Linked DNA regions of Homo sapiens: all the other regions are linked to region 5. Evidence: promoter capture Hi-C in 16 types of primary human blood cells and fetal thymus (Javierre and others, 2016). All regions are on one chromosome and are shown on one strand. The core of a region is centred on a gene start or on the middle of the fragment in contact, and the rest is flanking DNA. Distances in the headings are between cores, read along the strand shown. Region 1 has its middle 14 kb from the start of ZNF501. Region 2 overlaps TOPAZ1 (testis and ovary specific TOPAZ 1). Region 3 overlaps KIF15 (kinesin family member 15). Region 4 holds the start of KIAA1143. Region 5 holds the start of ZKSCAN7 (zinc finger with KRAB and SCAN domains 7).

What was found. The method cuts DNA at HindIII sites, captures the fragments that hold promoters and counts their contacts. A CHiCAGO score of 5 or more calls a contact.
Region 1: a contact is called between a fragment that was not itself captured here and the fragment with the promoter of ZKSCAN7 in region 5, in 1 of 17 cell types (erythroblasts). The highest score is 5.1, in erythroblasts.
Region 2: a fragment that was not itself captured here is called in contact with the fragment with the promoter of ZKSCAN7 in region 5 in 1 of 17 cell types (megakaryocytes); the score reaches 5.8 in megakaryocytes.
Region 3: a fragment that was not itself captured here is called in contact with the fragment with the promoter of ZKSCAN7 in region 5 in 1 of 17 cell types (endothelial precursors); the score reaches 5.7 in endothelial precursors.
Region 4: a contact is called between the fragment with the promoter of KIAA1143 here and the fragment with the promoter of ZKSCAN7 in region 5, in 9 of 17 cell types (erythroblasts, M1 macrophages, megakaryocytes and 6 more). The highest score is 9.3, in erythroblasts.

The regions. Positions count from the first base shown.
Region 1 is chr3:44,742,147-44,744,846 of GRCh38, reverse strand. No RefSeq gene overlaps it. Among named protein-coding and RNA genes, the nearest start is that of ZNF501, 14 kb to the right of the region's middle. The HindIII fragment of the contact is 4,209 bases long and covers 1-2,700 here.
Region 2 is chr3:44,321,503-44,324,202 of GRCh38, reverse strand. TOPAZ1 (testis and ovary specific TOPAZ 1) reads right to left here. Exons shown (of 20, transcript NM_001145030.2): 18 at 908-1,111. Among named protein-coding and RNA genes, the nearest start is that of TCAIM, 16 kb to the left of the region's middle. The HindIII fragment of the contact is 643 bases long and covers 1,073-1,715 here.
Region 3 is chr3:44,795,948-44,798,647 of GRCh38, reverse strand. KIF15 (kinesin family member 15) reads right to left here. Exons shown (of 35, transcript NM_020242.3): 9 at 972-1,097; 10 at 692-814. Among named protein-coding and RNA genes, the nearest start is that of KIF15, 36 kb to the right of the region's middle. The HindIII fragment of the contact is 1,257 bases long and covers 645-1,901 here.
Region 4 is chr3:44,760,338-44,763,037 of GRCh38, reverse strand. KIAA1143 reads left to right here and starts at 1,419. Exons shown (of 3, transcript NM_020696.4): 1 at 1,419-1,543. The coding sequence starts at 1,436. KIF15 (kinesin family member 15) reads right to left here and starts at 1,244. Exons shown (of 35, transcript NM_020242.3): 1 at 1,154-1,244. The coding sequence starts at 1,172. RefSeq lists enhancers at 1,194-1,473, 2,264-2,700. The HindIII fragment of the contact is 21,704 bases long and covers 1-2,700 here.
Region 5 is chr3:44,553,849-44,556,548 of GRCh38, reverse strand. ZKSCAN7 (zinc finger with KRAB and SCAN domains 7) reads right to left here and starts at 1,356. Exons shown (of 6, transcript NM_001288590.2): 1 at 1,068-1,356. RefSeq lists silencers at 1,303-1,442, 1,553-1,602. The HindIII fragment of the contact is 2,808 bases long and covers 1-2,329 here.

The DNA.
Region 1 (2,700 bases), core at 26-2,525, 190 kb before region 5:
GTGGCGCACACCTGTAGTCCCTGCTACTTGGGAGGCTAAGGTGGGAGGATTGCTTGATCCCAGGAGGTTGAGGCTGCAGTGAGCTGTGATCACAACACTGCAGTCCAGTCTGGGAGACAGAATGAAATCCTGTCTCAAAAATATAAAAATGATGAAGGCATGTCAAAAGGATACAGGAGCCAACTAGCAGGAGTTACCAATGGCCAAATCTGGGGCAATTTGAACAAGGAATTAATGATAGTAGATAACAACTCATAAAATTCTTATTGATATAAACAATATATATATATTTTGAACACATGAGAAGGGCTAGGTCTTCCTTATAGTAGAATTTTAATAAAGTTAGGAGGAATTATGGAAATAGAAACAGTATTTGGCAAATTCCACAGTAAAAAAATTTAGCGGGCTGAATGATGGTCCCTAAAGACAACGGGTCTTGATCCTGGAACTTGTGAATGGTAACTTACGTGGTAGTTTTTGCAAAAGTGATTAAATTAACAATCTTGAGATAAGTGGATTATCCTGGATTATATAAGTGGGTCCTAAATGCCATTACACTCACACCTTTCCTTATAAACGACAGATAGAGGGAGATTAGGCACAATAGGAAATGTGAAGATGGAGGCAGAGACTGGAGTGATGTGGCTATAAGCTGAGGAATACTGGCTGCACCAGAAGCTGGAAGAGACAAGCAATGGATTCTCCCCTAAAGCCTTTGGAGAGAACATGGCCCTGCCAACATCTTGATTTGAGCAGAGTAGCTGATTTGAAACTTCTGGCATCCAGAATTCTGAGAGAATAAATTTCTGTTGTTCTAAGCCACCAAGTTTGTGATAATTTTTTATAGCGGCCATAGGAAACTAATACACAAGTGCTGTTGGAAAGACTCATCAAAGGATGCCAAAATTAGTGGCCAAAATTATGCTCAAAACCAGAGTATTTTCACAGTCTCAAAGTATCTCCCCACAAGACACTAATTACAAAAGAAAAACTAGTGACCAGGCGTGATGGCTCATGCCTGTAATCCCAGCACTTTGGGAGGCTGAGGCGGGCGGATCACAAGGTCAGGAGATCGAGACCATCCTGTGAATGGTGAAACCCCATCTCTACTAAAAATACAAAAAATTAGCCGGGCGTGGTGGCGGGCGCCTGTAGTCCCAGCTACTTGGGAGGCTGAGGCAGGAGAATGGCGTGAACCCGGGAGGTGGAGCTTGCAGTGATCCAAGACTGCACCACTGCACTCCAGCTTGGGGGACAGAGTGAGACTCTGTCTCAAAAAAAAAAAAAAGAAAAGAAAAGAAGAAAGAAAAGCTAGTAACATTACAGTGGAGAAACTAGGCAAATGTCACCTTAACTGCCTGATCAAAGTTAATATTACCAGTAATAAGTCATACTGATGCCAGACTCACGCCTGTAATCCCAGCACTTTGGGAGGCCAAGGCAGGTGGATCACCTGAGGTCGGGAGTTTGAGACCAGCCTGACCAACATGGAGAAACCCCATCTCTACTAAAAATACAAAATTAGCCGGGCATGGTGGCACATGCCTGTAATCCCAGCTACTTGGGAGGCTGAGGCAGGAGAATCGCTTGAACCTGGGAGGCAGAGGTTGCGATGAGCCTTTGCATTCCAGCCTGGGCAACAAGAGCAACAGTCCGTCTCAAAAAAAAAAAAAAAATGTCATACTGACATCATGACCTACTGATATGCACTGAGAAGGACACCTCACTCCCAAAGGCCACGAAGATCCTGCTAGGGCCTTCCTGATGTCCTTTTCAAGGATAGGGCACAAGGGCAACCGATGTCCAGTACTAAAGAGGCCAGAATCCTAGGGTATGGCAATGGCACATAAATGCCAATACAGACTCCAGGGCTTGTCTGGGGTCAAAAGGGTCAGTGTAAAGGTGTCAAATTATCCTCTCTTCTGAACGAGTCCTTTATTCTGAGATTATATCTTTCTTGTTTCTTTGAAGTTAAAATATACTTTATTTTATGAAATAATGATTTTGACAGGTGGTAGTTTATTGTACTTACTTTGCCAAAAGGTTGAAAAATCTATACCAGCGTCCAAAAAATATGTTGAAATTTACTGTCTGGGACTTCCAAACATCAAGTCCAAGTGTTGTCCAATAGAACATTCTGCCCTAGCCACCTATGGCTATTAAGCACTTGAAATGTGGCTAGAGCAACCAAGGAACTGAATTTTTCCTTCTACTTAATTATTTAAATTTAAATAGCCACAAATGGGTCGTAGCTACTGTGTTAGCGCAGTTCTAGGTATTAGTGGGATTTTTTTTTTTTAATTGTTAGGAGTCCTGCAGCCCACAAGGGATTCCCTCCCACTTTGTAAAGGTCAGAGGTGTTCTGATGTTTGACACAAAACAGCACAACATACAGTCATATCTGGCTGGATGGCTCAAGACAACCAGGGCCAGACAGTCACATTGGGAAGGAAGACACATGTCTGAGTTTCCAGGCGCCTGTTTCTGTGGCCCTTTCCCCACTCCTGGGCCTGCTCTCTCCCCCAGAAAGCAATAAACTCTACTATAGAAACTATCTTTCAACTGACACCTACTCTCACCAACCTATGGCTTCTCCCAGATCATGCATGGAGTCTTTCAGGGAGGAGAAAGAGCAGACAGAAGGCATCTGTCCAGGTTTGACGTTAGGAATCCTCCCCATTGGCCCCACAGTCATTCTTA
Region 2 (2,700 bases), core at 145-2,644, 230 kb after region 5:
TATATGCAACTGAAATGAAAATTTTATCAAATAATTAAACTTACTACCTGTAATGTACCCTAGTATTTTCTTTCCCATTTTGTTGGGGAAAAAAAGTTACCACCTGCTGCATTGATCACAGCTGGCCACCTGAAAAACACTTCCAGCTCAGGTAGTAGTGGCTAGGATATTTGACACATTTGGTACGGGGTGACACAGAGTAGGCACTCAAATATTTGTTATATACATGATAGTGGTAGAAATGGTAGCTGAAGACAAATTACTGCATGAAGGCAGAAAAAACAATGCTTTTCTAGATCTAGAACGTACATGGAATTACTTTCTAATTAAAATACCTGCGAGGTGGCTTGGACTAGAGAAAGCACTAGTTTTCCAGGCTTATTTGTTAGAGAACAACAGCTGTAAGTAGATTAACAAAGTTCTATTACTAAAAGCCATGTGAAAAACATATACTATGTTGCATTGTTATGACAGCCTTTATGCTTCTGATGTGACCTGCTATTGAATATTTTTAGTTATAACAATTAGGGATATAGCAGAGATAAATAAAAACAGATCTTCTTTAAACTTCATTCTACCCACTTGTTTTATGCTTGCATTATTTATAAGATATGCCAAACTGGTTCTATCCTGTCATTTGTTCCCTTTGCTCGCCCTCTAGCGGACAGGCTACTGTGCAAGAAATAAAGATTGGAAATTGCAAACATTGGAAATAAGGAAAGCAACTGGAAACAGAAGAGAAACAATAGGTTTCAAAAGAGAGCACAGATCTGTTGAGACCACTACATTTGAATATGTATTACTGCTCTTTTAATACATATAAATATCTAATCTTATATATTATAAATTCTGGGTTAGAGAATACAATTATAAACCAATATATTAAAACATTTTAAATGTAACTTACTTTTGTAGTGGGCTCTGGCTTTGAGCCATAAACGACTCCTTCCTAAAGAAGTAATTAATCTTCTGAGAAAGGAAAAATCAATAGGGATGCTCTTTGAAATCATGAATTCTGCCACAGAGGATGACATACCAAGACTACTGCTTTCTATACAGGAACCTAGAAGCTTATTAAAAAGAAGGCTATATTGTGAGACTTCCACAGTTTCTGGAATAAAAAAAATGATATAATAAAATTCATTTATATTAAAGTGTCTCAAACCTCCATCTCATACTCCTTTTTCTTTCTCCTCCCCTTCACCCTTTCTTACCCATTATAGGACTCACAGTCACTAAAATGCAATCATTTTATATATTCTCTTTATTTTTCTTCTCCTTTTTTGAGACAGGGTCTCACTCTGTCAGCCAGGCTGGAGTGCAGTGGCATGATCTTGGCTCACTGCAACCTTCACCTCCTGGGCTCAAGTCATCCTCTCGCCTCAGCCTCCTAAGTAGCTTGGACTACAGGTCCACCAGGCCTGGCTAATTTTTATGTTTTTTTGCAGAGGCAGGGTTTCACCATGTTGCCCAGACTAGTTTCGAATTCCTGGGCTCATCTATGGCCATACCACCCTGAACACGCCCATATCGTCTGATCTCAAATTCCTGGGCTCAAGTGAACTGCCTGCCTCAGCCTCCCAAAGTGCTGGGATTACAGGCATGAGCCACCGCGCCCAACCTATCTTACATATTCTCTAAGTCAGAAACGAAAAAGCATTTGACAAAAGAAAAACCATTAACTTCCTTTGCAATAGAGAAGATAAAAAGAAGCTTGACAAAAATTTCAGAGGATGCATTAAGACCTCTGTATTTGATTCCCACATGTAACTGTGTATCTGTAGTGTCTTGAATAATTTCTCAATTCTGTTTGTATTATATCTACAGTTCAGACCTTAGCCTTATATATCCCTTGACTAAAAACAAATCATCCCCTAATAAATATTTACTGCCAAATTTAAAACAATCCTTTAATGGATTTTCTATTCCTTCAGTTATTCTTAGAAGAAAGAGAAGTCATCTTAGAGACTTCTCTTTTATTCCCTATATTCAGTCAGTTGGGTCTGTGAGCTAGACTGTAGTTCCTTACTGCTTTAGAATCTTTTAGTTATCCAGGACTTATCAGGAAATTAATCTCTCTACTTTTAGTCTTTTCCTAAACACTACTGCCAGAGGAACTTTCCTGAAACACCAATTTCATTATATCACTCCCTAGACCCAAAACTCTAGTGATCCCTTTTTATACACAGAGAAGAAAATTCCTTTAGCCTGACATTTAGGGTCTTCCAAAATCTGGCACAACTATCTGTCCAATCTCCCTATTACTACTTTGTTTCATTACCAACTAATTGTATATTAAGAGATTGCTAGATAGCAGCCATTGGGCCAGGAATACCAAGGTAAAGAAAATAGTACCATCCTGATTGAGCTCACTTTGTATAAGGAGAAACAGATAAGAATGCTCATTACAATACAGGAGCACAGTGGAATTAAGTGGAAAAATGAAAATTTATAGATAGTACGATGAAAGTACTGAGGGGAGGCCCTCAGGTTAACGTTTTCGTCATCCTCTGAACCTATCACATAGCTCATTCTTGACCCAAAGCTTTTGCTCATGGACACCCAACATTCAAGAGTACTGACTACCATTTCCCACATTGGCGTTTGAACTTGGCATCTGTTTCACTTCCTCCATTTCTTTCAAGTTTACCTGTGTTCCTAGGTAATGTAAACTAAGTTCTGTATTTATTCAGTGATAAG
Region 3 (2,700 bases), core at 24-2,523, 240 kb before region 5:
AGGACTGCTTGAACCTAGGAGTTTGAGACGAGCCTGGGCAACAAAGTGAGATCCTACCTGTACAAAAAATAAAAAAATTAAGGCCAAGGCAGACGGATCACGAGGTCAGGAGATCGAGATCATCCTGGCTAACACGGTGAAATCCCGTCTCTACTAAAAAATACAAAAAATTAGCCGGGCGTGGTGGTGGGCGCCTGTAGTCCCAGCTGAGCAGAGATCGCACCACTGCACTCTAGCCTGGGTGACAGAGCAAGACTCTGTCTCAAAAAAATAAATAAATAAAAAATAAATAAAATAAAAATTAAAAAAATAAAAAAATTAGCCTGGCATGGTGCTGCATGCCTGTAGTTCCAGCTACACAGGAGGCTGAGGCAGGAGGATCGCTTGAGCCCAGGAAGTTGAGGCTAGAGTGAGCTGTGTTTGCACCACTGCACTCCAGCCTGGGTGACACAGCAAGACTGTGTCTCAAAAAAAAAGAAAAAACTAGTCAAGCAATAACAACCATAAGATCTAACCTAGGTCTCTAATTACATGTGTGATATAGAAGGGTAGGAAAGATAAAATAGAAATTTTGCATACAATGAGAAATAAATAAAAGTTAATGTTAATATTAGGGCAATCACAAAAATGGCATACTGTAAGCTTTAGTATTTTTCTCATTTATTTAATGAAGTATACGCCAGTATTTTACCTTGTTTTTAATCAGCTTGGCTCTTTGAGCAAAGTTAAGTGTTGATAGGGTTTCCCCAAAACACCTGGATCCAGGATGAACATTTGCAATTATGGCTGTTTTGGCATTACCTCCAAGGGAATCCTGTTTAATGATAGGAATGAACATATTTTCGGTGAGAAATCACAAGACCTTTTTAAGCAAAGAAAATGTATACTCTTGCCACCAAGGCTGAGAGACTGTCCCACTATCAACTTTAGCATAACCAAAAGGAGCCCAGGAACCCAAGGATCTACTTTACCCGTAGTAAGAAGGTAAGTTTGGAGTCTCTGTAGCAAACATGTCTCTGTTTTCCATTACCCACGTCGACAAGTGCTGTAATCACTTGGCCCAGGCAGCTCAATGATCGATTTATGTTACCTGCTTCCTAAAGTGTTGACGGAAAAGAACAAAAATTTAGGTACGTTGGTTACTCTTTGGTATTTTGAATGAAAATATATCTAGCAGAGGAAAATTCTGGATGAAAAGGCAAGTCAGGGACAATGTTAATAAAGAACAACTATTCAACAAATAAAAAAGAAGTGCTGAACTATCCCTAACCTTTTCCTATTTGATGTACACTGTAATTTTAGTATTAGAAGACAAACACAGGCTGGCACTGTGGCTCATGCTAGTCATCCCAGCACTTTGGGAGGCCGAGGTGGGCAGGTTGCTTGAGCTCAGGAGTTGGATACCAGCCTGGGCAACATGGCAAAACCCCATCTCTACAAAGAAATACAAAAAACTGCTGGGCATGGTGGCACATGCCTGTAGTCCCAGCTACTTGGGAGGCTGAGGTGGGAGGATCACTTGAGCTTGGGAGGTGGAGGTTGCAGTGAGCTGAGATTGTGCCATTGCACTACAACCTGGGTGACAGAGTGAGACCCTCTCTCAAAAACAACAACAAAAAAAGACAAACACAAAAATCATGCAAAGAAAAAAAATATTAATGTCACTTCATGATTGTAATAGTTTGAAACCGAGCTATAAAGACCAGAAAAAAATAGGGAAAAAAAAGCTAGAGTAGTGCATTAATAGGTACTTTTTTCAATCCTTTTATGCTAAAATATTTAAGGGTATAATGCCTAATAACTCACCCATACAGCCCCCAAAGCCACTGATGAACTTATTTGAGGAGAATATTCAGTTTAATTCTGTAAAGGATAATAAAAACTACTTTAAAACAGAAGCTTGGTGGGGGGAAAAAATGAGCTAAATACGTTACATTAGATTTTTACTGTAGGTAGCATATTTTGAAAACTGGGTCTGCAGTGGAAGGAGTATACAAAAAAGAGAAAAAGTCAAAATTATAATGCAAGATGTACTGAATTCAGAGTCACTGCTGTTATCATTCAGTAAATCAGAAAGGTGGTTAGTGGCATGGTTGAGAGTACTGTAGCAGCTCGGTTTGAATCTCAGCTCTACCTTTATTAGCTGTGTGACTTCGGTTTCTTTAACTGTAAAATAGAAAGAATAGCACCTACTTCCCAGAGTTGTTGGGAAGGTTAAATGAATTAATATATGTAAAGCATTTTAGAACAGACTTGGTATATGTCCTATTATAAGCATATGCTTTTTTTGACACAGAGTCTCACTCTGTCACCCAGGTTGGAGCACAGTGGCACAATCACAGCTCACTGCAATCTCGACCTCCTGGGTTCGAGGGATCCTCCCACCTCAGCCTCCCAGGTGCTAGGATTACAGGCATAAGCCACCATGCTCAACCCATATGCTATATTTATTAAGCCTCATATCTCAATAGAAATATGAGCTTTAGGCTGGGCGTGGTGGCTAACGCCTGTAATCCCAACACTTTGGGAGGCCAAGGAGGGTGGATCACCTGAGGTCAGGAGTTCAAGACCAGCCTGGCCAAAATGGTGAAACCCCATCTCTATTAAAAATACAAAATATTAGCTGGGTGTGGTGGTGGGCGCCTGTAATCTCAGCTACTTGGGAGGCTGAGGCAGAAGAACTGCTTGAACCAGAGAGGC
Region 4 (2,700 bases), core at 170-2,669, 210 kb before region 5:
GTCACATACATATATCTCATTAAATAAGCAGATGTTTTACTTATTTAACAGGCATCAAATTTTTTGCTTGAGTCCAGATTTAGTGACTGATCCATAAAGTGGAAACAAAGAACAAACAGTATGATTGTTCAGAAAGCAGGATGAACATTTCTCTCCAATAAGGTACCATTTTGTGAGCTCATAGTCCTTGAATACTGAAAATGATGAAAGGAAAAGGAATATTTTATATGCAAAAAGGTAGCATAAGGAGGTGTTCCGATTAGGTGTGATCGACCTAAAAGATTAATGAAACAACAAACCCATCAAAAACGACTACAATTGACAGAAAGCTAGAAACATTAACGGCGTTGGAAAGCTCAAATGACAGAAGTTCACAAATTCTTAATCATCTAATCCAGGCCTCTCCTCATTACCATTCAGACCACTCACAAAGATCCCATTAAATCAGCTCATAATCAGGTTTACAAAAATAAGACTCCTTAAGAGATGTGGCAATGTGAGAAGTGGAGCACGTACACAGGCACAGCAAATGACTACGTTAGTGAAAACTGTAGGGTTTATCATAAGCAAAATGACAGTGCTCTCCTCCGTGAAAAAGAGAAAGAAATCGGACGGGTCTCCTTTAAGTGAAAATAGAGACTGTGAGAACATAAAGACATTGCTGACATCTGTGTTTTAACATTCCATTTATTTAAGGAAAGAGGAGAAAGAAATGTTTGGAATATAAATAAACCCTTCCCTATAGGAAGGTCAGAAATGTAGAAATACGCAGAAGCTGGTGGGAGCAAAAGCCGATCCTGAGACAAGGATATCTAGAGAGGTAGCCCTGGTCGGGATGTGGGAAGAGGCCTGCGAAGAAACAGCAGAACCAAGGGAAAGAAAGGGAAGAACGTCAGGTCCACTGCTCATCCCGAGCGCCTAGAACTGCGCCAGACTCCTGGCATGCGCACAGGACACTGAAGGAAGGGATGAGCTTTTCGGCTAGCGTATTGTCTTTGAGCGACAGAGCGGGATTCCCAAACGTCCCCGCCGGTCACTCAGCTCCTGCAGTTCATGCCTAGCAAGAACCTTGCGGGCGGTCCGAGGCTGCCATCCTTTCACAGCTGTATTTGGGGGCAAAAATAGGGTAACGAAGCCGGGGGCCCAGACTTACTTTTGCAGCCGGGTGCCATAGCGCCCTCACCCCTCGATCCCGAAAACAATGCAGCCGGTGCCTCCACCTCCCGACTGCACCGCGCGCGACTGAATTCCGCCCGCTCAAGATGGCCGCAAATTTGAATTTGGCGCTTGGATCGGACGTTGACGCCCGCATGGAGGCCGCCATGTTGCCCGGCCTACGCATCGGGGGCGTGGCCCAGTGACGTCACAGCTAAGCGCCTCTGTATCGTCGCGAATCCGTCGCGGAACCTGTCTTCTGTCTTTACCCAGAGCTACCATGAGCAAGCGGAACCAGGTATCGTACGTGCGGCCAGCCGAGCCGGCGTTTCTGGCCCGCTTCAAGGAACGGGTCGGCTACAGGGAGGGACCCACCGTAGAGACTAAGGTGAGCCTTCGCCAGTCGTGTTTCTTCGGAAGCGCAGCCAGCCCGCCACTTTCAACTTTTGCCTCTACTTGGAGGGTGGGTGCTGTCGGGTCCCTCTTTTCACCCGCGCTCGAACCCAATTCCGGTGGAACTCGGACCCCCAGGCTGGTTCTTTTCAAGCGACCACAGCCCCCTACGCCCAGGAAGCTCTGTAGTTTTCAGAGCGCTGCTGTGTTCCTGAAAATGAACTGACGTGTAAACCACCTGGTCCTTGGTAGATGGTAAAGAAAGATCACTTTATTGTCTCTTCTTTCTCACTTGTTTACCTCAAAAGCTGTGAGTTCGCAGGGTGAGTTAGAGTTACAGCGTCGTCCCGTATTCCAGATAAGGACACAGGCCACTCGATCAAATGACCCCCGCCCCAACCATGTCCTAGGACTCGAGTCTGGAACGTCTTCGGAGGAATGTCCTGAATCTGTTTCTATGCTTTGTTAATTAAAAATAAATAAAAATAATATAGAGAAGGTCGGGCACAGTGGCTCACGCCTGTAATCCCAGTACTTTGGGAGGCCTAGGTGGGCGGATCACCTGAGGTCAGGAGTTCGAGACCAGCAGAGCCAATAGCCAATATGGTGAAACCCCCCGTCTCTGCTAAAAATACAAAAATTAGCCGGGCATGGTGGCACATGCCTGTAGTCCCAGCTACTCCGGAGGCTGAGACAGAATCGCTCGAACCCGGGAGGTGGACGTTGCAGTGAGTTGAGATGGCGCAGCTGCACTCCAGCCTGGACAACAGAGCGAGACTCCGTCTCAAAAAAAAAAAAAAAAAGCCGGGCCTGGTGGCTCACGCCTGTAATCCCAGCGCTCTGGGAGGCTGAGGCGGCAGATCACGAGGTCAGGAGATCGAGACCATCCTGGCTAAAACAGTGAAACCGCGTCTCTACTAAAAATACAAAAAATTAGCCAGGCATGGTGGCGGGCGCCTGTAGTCCCAGCTACTCGGGAGGCTGAGGCAGGAGAATGGCGTGAACCCAGGAGGAGGAGCTTGCAGTGAGCCGAGATCGCGCCACTGCACTCCAGACTGGGCGACAGAGCGAGACTCCGTCTCAAAAAAAAGAAAAAAAAGAAGAGTAAGCAGAAGCCGTAAATATCCTGGGTCTAAATAGAAGAAGAGGAGC
Region 5 (2,700 bases), core at 107-2,606:
TTATAATGTGCATTACAATTTGTATAGTAGTATTCATGTTTAAATTACAAATAAACCAATGTAGGGAGTAAGTGATCAAACCTCTTCTACTGATAGAAATGCAAAATAAAGAAAGTTTGGAGCTAAAGCTCTAGAGACACACTTAGAAGCCACACATACTCTTTCTTTGAATTTTTCTTCTTCAACTTTTGGCAAACTTGTCTGTCAAGACCATGAACAAAGGCAACTTTTTCTTGGTTTTCCTGATTGCCCCATCAGGAAGAGTGCTGGTAGCTTCCCTTTGTGTACCTCTCACTATAACCCTTTAACTGGTTTATGCACAACTCACCACTCTCACCCTCCAAACTGCTGCACGGCCACCAAAGGAAAGGAACCAAATGGAATCAGAAAATACTAGACCTTTTTTTACTCAATGCACCTCCCCTAGAAAGCCTTCCTGATCACGCTAGGCTTAGAGAGGTGGTTATTGTCTCAGTGATCCCAAACTACCTTTTTCATTCAAACCTCTAGTAGAGCACATCTCACACTGTAATCGTTTGTGGTTTACACGACTGTCTCCCCTGCTTTCTGGGAGGATACAAAGGGCAGAGCTGACTTCCAGTCATCTTTGTACACGTGTGCACATGGCACACATAATTGGGAAATGAATGAATATGATACATTTAGCTGACACTGAAGTGGAGGAAAACTTTGAACGTTTTAAAATCAGCACCTTACTGGTAACTAGGGCATCTGTGCTGTGCTTCCAGTTCACCAAGAGCCCAGATCCCTGTGTCTCAATCTCTTTAAAAAGACAAAGAAGGACTTTAAAATAATCTGTAAACTCTGCTCTAAGATCCCATATATGTAGAAAGTTCAGGCCATTCTCCTGCTTCCCATAGTGTTCCGAATGCTCAGCACTTTAAAATCTCAATTGGATTTTTGCATTTCCAAGTCACGCTCCACGTTTGCGATTCTGAGCCTGGGTCTGACCCAAATATGACAGTTCATACAGTTTCCTACTGCAAGAGCTGGGAAAACAGCGATCTACCTTTCGTGTTAAACCAGGCTTCAGCAGCGCCGCTCACCTGGCCACGTCTGCCCTGTTCATCGCTGTACCCGCAGATACCCGGCTCCGTGCCACGCACGAATGGTCAGGGGTATGAGACAAAGAAGCGGCTCTACATCGGGCGGCTTCTGAGAGTCACGGGGACCGCGCCGCCTGCCGCCGGGAAGAAGCGCGGTCCTGGCCAGCGTCGGCGACCCGAGCTCCGGCCGCGCCTCCCTCCGCGTCTCGGCCCACTCGCGGTGGCACTCGGCACCGAAGCCGGACACTCTACTGCCCGTTAGACCAAAAACAATGGCCGAGCCGGAAGCGAGAGAGGCCTCGACTTCCGCCCCCTCCGGGATCCCGGAAGTCTCGTTTGCGAAGGTGGGCGCGCGCGTCCCCGCACCCGGGAGAGCTGGCAGGGCTTACTTCTCGGCTGTGCCCGGCCACCTGCCGCGGGCGGGGTCGGGGTCTCGCGAGGGCCCAGGCCACTCACATCCCGCTCTCAGGCCATAGTCGGGGGATCCAGACGCGTCCCAGCTCTACACCTTCTCCTCCAGGTGTCCTTGGGAAAGATACCCAACCTCCAAGCCTGTTTTCTCATCTGAAAAAAATGCAGAGCATAATGCGTACCTCACAGGGCTGGGAGCACCGCATGAGGTTAACAGACACTACATAGCAAAAGGCCTGGCATATCCTGAGCAGTCAGTTATACCATGTGTGATGCCCAATCTGAAGTCTCAGTGAAGGGAGCAGCAAGCATCTCCCATCTTAAAAATGAAGAAGCATGTCTAGAAATTGTGATATTTTGGCCCATAAATGTGGTTAATATTTCGTAAGACAGCACCAGCATTCTGGTGTCCATGTAGAGGTTCCTAGGGAGACCAAGAAGCAGATAAACTGAGAAGGTGTGGGGACAGTTTGTAACCTAGTAGGCAGTTGTCTAGCCTCTGGGTGGCAGGTGGTACCCAGGTGACTTTCACTTTGAAGAATGGTTTGCATACAGAAGGAGGATATGAACTGGTCCTTGTTACAAACATGGTTGAGCAGGCCCTGTGTGTTAATGACCACGGGTGAAGGGCAAAGGGTGTGATGAAGTTAACTGTGTATCTTTATTATAGCACAGGAGATAGGTCCTTTACAGGGCCCAAAGTAAACAGTCTCCTGGACTGTCTAGGGATGGCAATATTTCAAAGGTGCCCTGGGCCTAACCCTGGCCCTGACATATGTTCCTCATATATCTGTGTGAGCCAAGATAGAAACAAAGACACCAGAAGTCCTGCTCCAGAGTTTCCACAAGCTTAAAAGTAATCTCTTGGAGCAATCTTTGTCCATTGATCCTAATGGTGGTTTCCTGTCATCAAGGTCCCCCTCTCCATTTGGAAATCTCACAAGGAGGTTTTGGCTATTTAAAACCAGGAACCCCAGCCTCTGCCTGACATTGATGCTAGACATTGCCTACTGGCAAATCAAGGCCTCAGAAGCTTAGGATTCTTGAGGTGGAAGGCAAATCAAGGCCCCAGAAGCTTAGGATTCTTGAGGAGGAAATCTCCCAAGGCCAGGCTAAATGCTCTCAGACCTGATTTTCAGGTCTCCTTGACCACGTGTTGTCCTGCAGTCCTGGCTTCCTATTATAGGAGACACAAGGATTTGGAAACCAAGATTGAGGTTTT